2 separate regions of the Homo sapiens genome follow, and region 2 is linked to region 1. Evidence: promoter capture Hi-C in 16 types of primary human blood cells and fetal thymus (Javierre and others, 2016). All regions are on one chromosome and are shown on one strand. The core of a region is centred on a gene start or on the middle of the fragment in contact, and the rest is flanking DNA. Distances in the headings are between cores, read along the strand shown. Region 1 holds the start of UBA6 (ubiquitin like modifier activating enzyme 6). Region 2 holds the start of DCK (deoxycytidine kinase).

The links. Contacts are between HindIII fragments. The CHiCAGO score rates a contact against its expected background, and 5 or more counts as called.
Region 2: a fragment that was not itself captured here is called in contact with the fragment with the promoter of UBA6 in region 1 in 1 of 17 cell types (non-activated CD4 T cells); the score reaches 6.7 in non-activated CD4 T cells.

The regions. Positions count from the first base shown.
Region 1 is chr4:67,699,843-67,702,895 of GRCh38, forward strand. UBA6 (ubiquitin like modifier activating enzyme 6) reads right to left here and starts at 1,313. Exons shown (of 33, transcript NM_018227.6): 1 at 1,207-1,313. The coding sequence starts at 1,277. It overlaps UBA6-DT (UBA6 divergent transcript), which reads left to right and starts at 1,436. Exons shown (of 2, transcript NR_015439.1): 1 at 1,436-1,642. RefSeq lists silencers at 1,037-1,206, 1,337-1,406. The HindIII fragment of the contact is 4,018 bases long and covers 1-2,247 here.
Region 2 is chr4:70,991,659-70,995,084 of GRCh38, forward strand. DCK (deoxycytidine kinase) reads left to right here and starts at 1,991. Exons shown (of 7, transcript NM_000788.3): 1 at 1,991-2,268. The coding sequence starts at 2,178. RefSeq lists a silencer at 1,727-2,066 and an enhancer at 2,237-2,416. The HindIII fragment of the contact is 699 bases long and covers 1,626-2,324 here.

The DNA of each region.
Region 1 (3,053 bases), core at 63-2,562:
ACCCGCCTGCTTCGACCTCCCAAAGCGCTGGGATTGCAAGCGTTTGAGCCACTGCGCCCGGCCAAAGTTTTTTATTATCTACTTTCCTATCATTTTATCCCTAGTACACTTTCACTTGCTGTTTTCCTTGCATGGCGGGGGCAATAGGCCTGGTGGGTAAATCTGAATAAAAACGAGAACAGCTGCAGTCTAACTAGCTCTGCCACTTAATGGCGTGACTGGCCCTTTTCAGAAAGTTGTGCCTCACTGGAATGTTTCAAAAATATGTAAAAATAATATGATCTATAAGACAATCAAAAACGCTTCAAATAAGGCGCGGGTTATATTACATAATATCCCTCCACTCTGGCAGTGTTGGCAATGGCAGACAACACCATGAAACTGAAAGCATCCCTTCAGTCTGAAACTGGCGAAAAGGCTACAGGTTTACAAAGTCTCACATCAGCTGAAAATAATACATCCATCAATTCTATCTTTGGCATGGTGTATTCTGACAGTGGTGGATAGAATGTAACCACTTGCTTTATTAATTATGAGATGATTGAAAGAGGAACTACTAACCAAGAAATTGGTAAAGGCCTAGCACAAATATTTTCCCCCTAATTTTACAGGGGCGGGAAAGACCTGAAGAACTTCAAAACCAAGTGGGAAATAAGAATGGGTAACTTGTGTATTTTTTTTTCCTGGCTTTTTTTTTTTCCTTCTTCCGAAGTCAACAAAGGCCTCAGGGTGTCCAGATTGCTACTGATTCATTCTTACCAAGTTCCTTCTGGTAATAGTTTTCAAAAGAGGATCTCAGTGGAGGTGCACAGTGGCGCTCCTAGCTTTCTTTTTACGGAAAGGAGGAAAGGTGCTTGGCACCAGTCGGGGAAGCTCACGCCAAGTGACCGAGACCAGAACTCGCTCTCGACCGGAGCCCCCCAAGTCTGGTGACTTGGAGGAAGGAGGATCCCGAATCCCAGCCAGAACTGAGAAAGCCCTCAAAGGTGCGGAAAGGGGACTTTTCCCTCAGGAAAGCCGGCAACAGCAGAGGCCCTAGCCCACGTCGCCACACCCACTCCGCGCGCGCCCCTCGCCTCCCAGGGCCGGCTCTGCTCGGCCCCGCGGCCTCTCGGGCGCCCCCAGCCCGCCGGAAAGAAAGAAGCAGAAACCCGGAGCCTGGGTCCCACCCGCGACCCCTCACCTTCGCCCTTCTCGTCCTCTCACCTGCCAGTCCCCCAGGAAGAACAGGACGCCTCTTCCCCCTGATGGGCGGCCACAGGCTCGGATCCTTCCATTGCCGCCTGAGACACCGCCGCCGGCTACTGGAAGGTAGGAAGGGGCGGGACCGTGGGGGGGTCAAGGGGCGGGCGGAGACGTCATCAGAGGGGGCGGGCCTGGGGAAGCTAGGAGCCCGGCAGCGCCTTCCCGTCAACCCTAGGGGCGTCCTGGTTTCCGGTTTGGGTGTGGCCGCATGGCGTGCTGTGGTGCAGGTGGCCGAAGGGGGCGTTACTGTTGCGACTGGCATCCGCATCCGGCAGATGTAGATGGAACCAAAGTCCAGAAGTTACGCGTCACCCTTGCTCTACAGCCAAACATGCAGGACTCTAGTAACCCGCGAAATGATGGGATAGCGTTGCAAATCCTTAAAAGAGTCTTAACGGTAAGAAGAGGAAACAGCTTTATTTTATAAATAAACTGAAGGCTGCTAATAGCTCCAGATTGTCAGTGAGGGGATACCACTTAAAGATGTTATACATTTAATAAATAATTTTGGGAGTCCACTACATGTGAGGCGCTGCCTCAGATTTAATAGAATCATGTGACTTTTAGTGCCATAGATGTCGTTAGATCATCCAGTTTGGTCCCTTAAATTTGTGGGTAAGGGAAAGGAACTTCCGGTCAGTGCAAGTGACTTGGTCAAGGTTATAGAGCTAGTCACTGTTAGATTACCAGAACACATATCTAAAAAGTTCTCATATAATTCTTTTTCATTTACTTCCGTGTCACCTTTCTTAGAAAGCAAAAATGAGTTGGACACAATAACATTAGGATTTGTCTTTCACTAAATAACACTGTATATTTGAATAAACATCTGCAGGATTTTTAAAATTAGCATATACTTTGGGTATTATGTAATTTTCTGTGATGTATCATATTTTTAATTAGAAATTTTTCCTCTCATATGGAGATGAGGGTCCAGGCAAAACTGTATTATCCTTCGTGCCCTCTATTCTCTTCAAAATTGCACATCTTAAAATACCTGGAAGCTTTATGTTGCTCACCTATAGCATTATCCGTGTTCCTCAATCCAGTTGTGAACCTTTTCCACATTAAAATGTTCTTGATCTGTGTTCTATTCTTTCAAGGCTCTGCTCTAGCACTAAGATAATGCTACAGGACTGAAGATAATGAAAAAGATTGAAGAAAGCAGAAACAGAACAAAAATCAGATTATTTCAAAGTTTCTTTCCTTGTAAAGGTTAAAACAGAGCATACTTCCTTATTATGCCCACTAGGTTAACTAGAATCTCCTGTTTTTTTAAAAAAAACTGGCTCATTTTTTCAAAATCCACTTTAATTACATGGTGCTTAGCACAAGCAACTCCATTCTGGTTTGATCTGATGGGGCCTAGTGTAGAAGGCTAGGCCAAAACAATGGCCTGCCATTACCCACGCTTCTTCATATTTTAACATCCATGAATAGAGGATGAATTTTTAAAAAATAAATACAGAAAACGATGCATCTTAAAATTGAGGGCATGTTAGATTTGATAAAATATGGTGTGAATTATTTCAGGCATGTAACAAGCAACCAGATTTAACAGATTTTAATGTTTTGTCACATATGTAAAATGGGAAAGAAAACTAGGCGATCACAGCTTTTTGACAGTGAGGCTTTATGTCATAAGAAAGTAGAATGACATATTGAGGAAACTTAAGGGAAAAATATGTAGGCCAAAGATTTTACATTCAGCAAAACTAATATACAAAAGGTACAAACTGTTATCAACAATTGATATATCAATTTGGTGAGACTAGTGTTTTCATGAGCCCCTCCTTAATAATTAATTG
Region 2 (3,426 bases), core at 725-3,224, 3.3 Mb after region 1:
CCACACTTGGAGATTTCTACTCCTTAACCCCAAGCCTCTTTATGACATCCATCCAGGACCAGCTCTGCTTTCCTGTTGAAGGTCTCAAGAGACTTGCCTTCCTCCTCTCGGTAGCTGCCAGTACTCTTACCATTTCATGAGTTTTCCCCCAAGCTTGGCTGTGAAATGTGATACCTATTAGCTTCCGCAGCACCTTTCTCCCAACTTCCTTGCTATACCTGATGACAACTCTTCAGGCCTCTTATATTCCTAGGATCTTGCTATTAATCACTATAGGGATAAGTAAAAGTAATATATACAAAATAATTGCATAACAGAATAATATAGGGCAGTTACATAGAATGATTCTTGCTGTTTAATCCTGGAAAATGTGATCCCCGAGGATTCACATTTTAATTTCTGCTCTTTATTTCTGAGGATGGAGTCACCGTTTTCCCCTTCTGGCTACACATTTAGATGCATTTCAGGTCTGATGATAGTTGCAATGTAAAAAAGAATAGCAAGGCCTTTGGTTTCTGTAGACAATTTGGACCAGATAACTTCCAGACTGGGTAATATCCGGTTTATTAGTGTTACTGGATGGGAAGTCTTGACTGAGTTGTCTGGGTTTTTGGCGTGTTGAACAAAGAATTGAACAAAACGTAGAAACAAAGCAACAAAAGAAGCAACGAAAGACAAAACAACAAAAGAACGAAGTAACAAAAGCACAAATTTATTGAAGCGAACCAAGTGCTTCAAGAGTCCCAATTGCAGTGTTCTTAAGGGTTACTAGGCTAAAAGAATTTGGTAAATCCCTAGGTGCCCTTTACAGTCGTCCAATTGGTTGCACCCTATGAAGGATTGGCCTGCGACCAATCAGAGGCTGAAATGGAGATGGCCGAGGACAATCAGAGGCGATGTGGAAACTTCTGTCTTGTAATCACAGGAGTGAAGGTGTGGCCTGTATGCTGCCTAGTCTTGCCTAGAAATTGCTGCACCTGCTGTTCTTTTGCTTATGCCTTAACCCTTGGTTACCCTAATTCCCTATTCTCTTGCCTCATTAGGTCTTTACCCTGACTAAAAATGCACTCATCTAGCTGGGACAAATCCTACACTGCATTTGTCCCATCTAGATGAGTATTCTAGCAGAGTACATGGCACATGAGTAGGCATTCAAAAATTCAACATACAGTACATTTTGTTACCTATGTGCCAGGTGTCGGGCAGGCTGAGTTAACAGCTGAACAGAAACCTACCTACCCAACGTGCTAACTTCTATACAGCATGGTCGTGCATCCAAATCAAATGGAAAGCGGTATGGGAGATCTGGAAAGGCCTCCTGTGGGTGGCATCTGACTACCTAAATTCCCATCCCAGTTTCACTTACTGACTTTGACACTTGGAACAAGCAGCCTCTCAGTGCCTGTTTTCCCACTGGCAGGTAAATGGGCTAATGACGGTATTTCTGGCACTAGACTTCGTTAATTAATGAAAAGCACATAGAAGAAAACAGCCTGGCTCTCTAAGTGGGCAGTGCGATTCCCAAGGACGGCACTTCGCCTGATAGTCTTCCTCTAGGCTGAGAAGCCAGAGTAAATCCATTTGATTTTCCTACCACACAGTGCCTTCTCCCCAGATGAGTTCAAAGCTTTAAGTCTATCCAGTTCTGTCCAGACGCGTCTGTTCATCTCCAACAGGCCCACTAGAGAGGCGGGTTTTCCAAAGCCTGGCACGGCCCACTGCAGGTGACGCCCTCTGCCCTCCAGCGCCCTCAGGCCTCTGGGGTCCACCCTTCCTCCCCACCCGACTCCGGAACCTCTTCCCGCGCCCTGCCCGGGCGCCTGGCTGCTTGGGGTAGAGGCCTTCCGCCACACGCGCGGCCCCGCCCCGGCCTTCACGTGACCTGGCGTGCGGAGCGCGCACGCGGGAACCCGCGCTGGAGGCGGGCGAGGGCCGAGGGGCAGCTAGGGAGCGCGGCTTGAGGAGGGCGGGGCCGCCCCGCAGGCCCGCCAGTGTCCTCAGCTGCCTCCGCGCGCCAAAGTCAAACCCCGACACCCGCCGGCGGGCCGGTGAGCTCACTAGCTGACCCGGCAGGTCAGGATCTGGCTTAGCGGCGCCGCGAGCTCCAGTGCGCGCACCCGTGGCCGCCTCCCAGCCCTCTTTGCCGGACGAGCTCTGGGCCGCCACAAGACTAAGGAATGGCCACCCCGCCCAAGAGAAGCTGCCCGTCTTTCTCAGCCAGCTCTGAGGGGACCCGCATCAAGAAAATCTCCATCGAAGGGAACATCGGTAAGGAGCCTCCGGAAATGTGGGACGCAAGGCTGGGGTGTCGCGGCAGTGGCTGAAGCTTCCCTTCGCCGCATCTCTCTGCAGCAACTCGGTGAGGGCTTTCCCTCCAGCCTGGCGGTGTGGACGCGGCCTCGGCTTCCTTTCCCACCCAGAGCATCCTTCCCTTACCTCCCGCTCCACGGGGTGACTGCGGTCCCCGGGGTCAGACTGGGCGCCAGGCCTGCGGTCTCTGTGAGGCGCGCTTTGAACCTCTGCTCCCTCTTTGTTGGGAACTCGCAAAGGGAAGCGGGGGAAGGGTATTAGATTTCTTGAGGTGTAACTTACATTAAATTCACCCTTTTTAGGTGTACTCTTCTATGAGGTTTGACAAACATTATGCCTTTTGCTATCACCATGATCGAGATACAGAACATTTTCATCACCTTAGAAAGTTCCTACCTGCTCCTTTGTATTCAGCCCCCTCCACCCTTCCTATTCCCTGGCACCCACTGATTTGATTTCTATCCCTGCAAGTGTTGCCTTTTCCAGAATGCCATATAAATGGAATCATAGGCTATATCGCCTTTTGTGTCTGGCGTCTTTCATTTAGCATAATGCTTTTGAAATTCATTCATGTTACTTGTGTCTGTAGTTTGTTTCTTTTTATTGCTGAGTAGTATTCCATTGCATGGATGTACCATCGTTTATCCATTTTCTAGTTGTGGACCTCAGGGTTGTTTACAGTTTTTTAGCTATATTATTAGCGAAGCATTGTTTTAGCTATATTATTAACGAAACTCGAAACATTCGAGTACAAGCAAAGAGGTCTTTAATGATCTTAATAGCATGGAGTTCCTCACCCCTTACTCCACATCCAAGTAAACATTGGATTATGATTCAAAGACCACTAACGTTTCTGTTAACTCAGATGGGGGGCAGACTAGGCCATGCCTGTCACTTTGCAAGATACACACCAACGTCCGATTCTTCTGTATCTCCAACCACAGGAAACCTACCCCTGAAACTTCCTGTTTTGATAGATTTAAAAAAAAATTTTTTTAGCTCCAGGTTGGGTGCTGGTCATTCATGCATACAGCAAATTTTTTAAAATTCTTACCACATTCAAAGCACTGTACCTTCTTGAAAAAGGCCAGGCAAGCAGATGCTTTAAGCATTCAA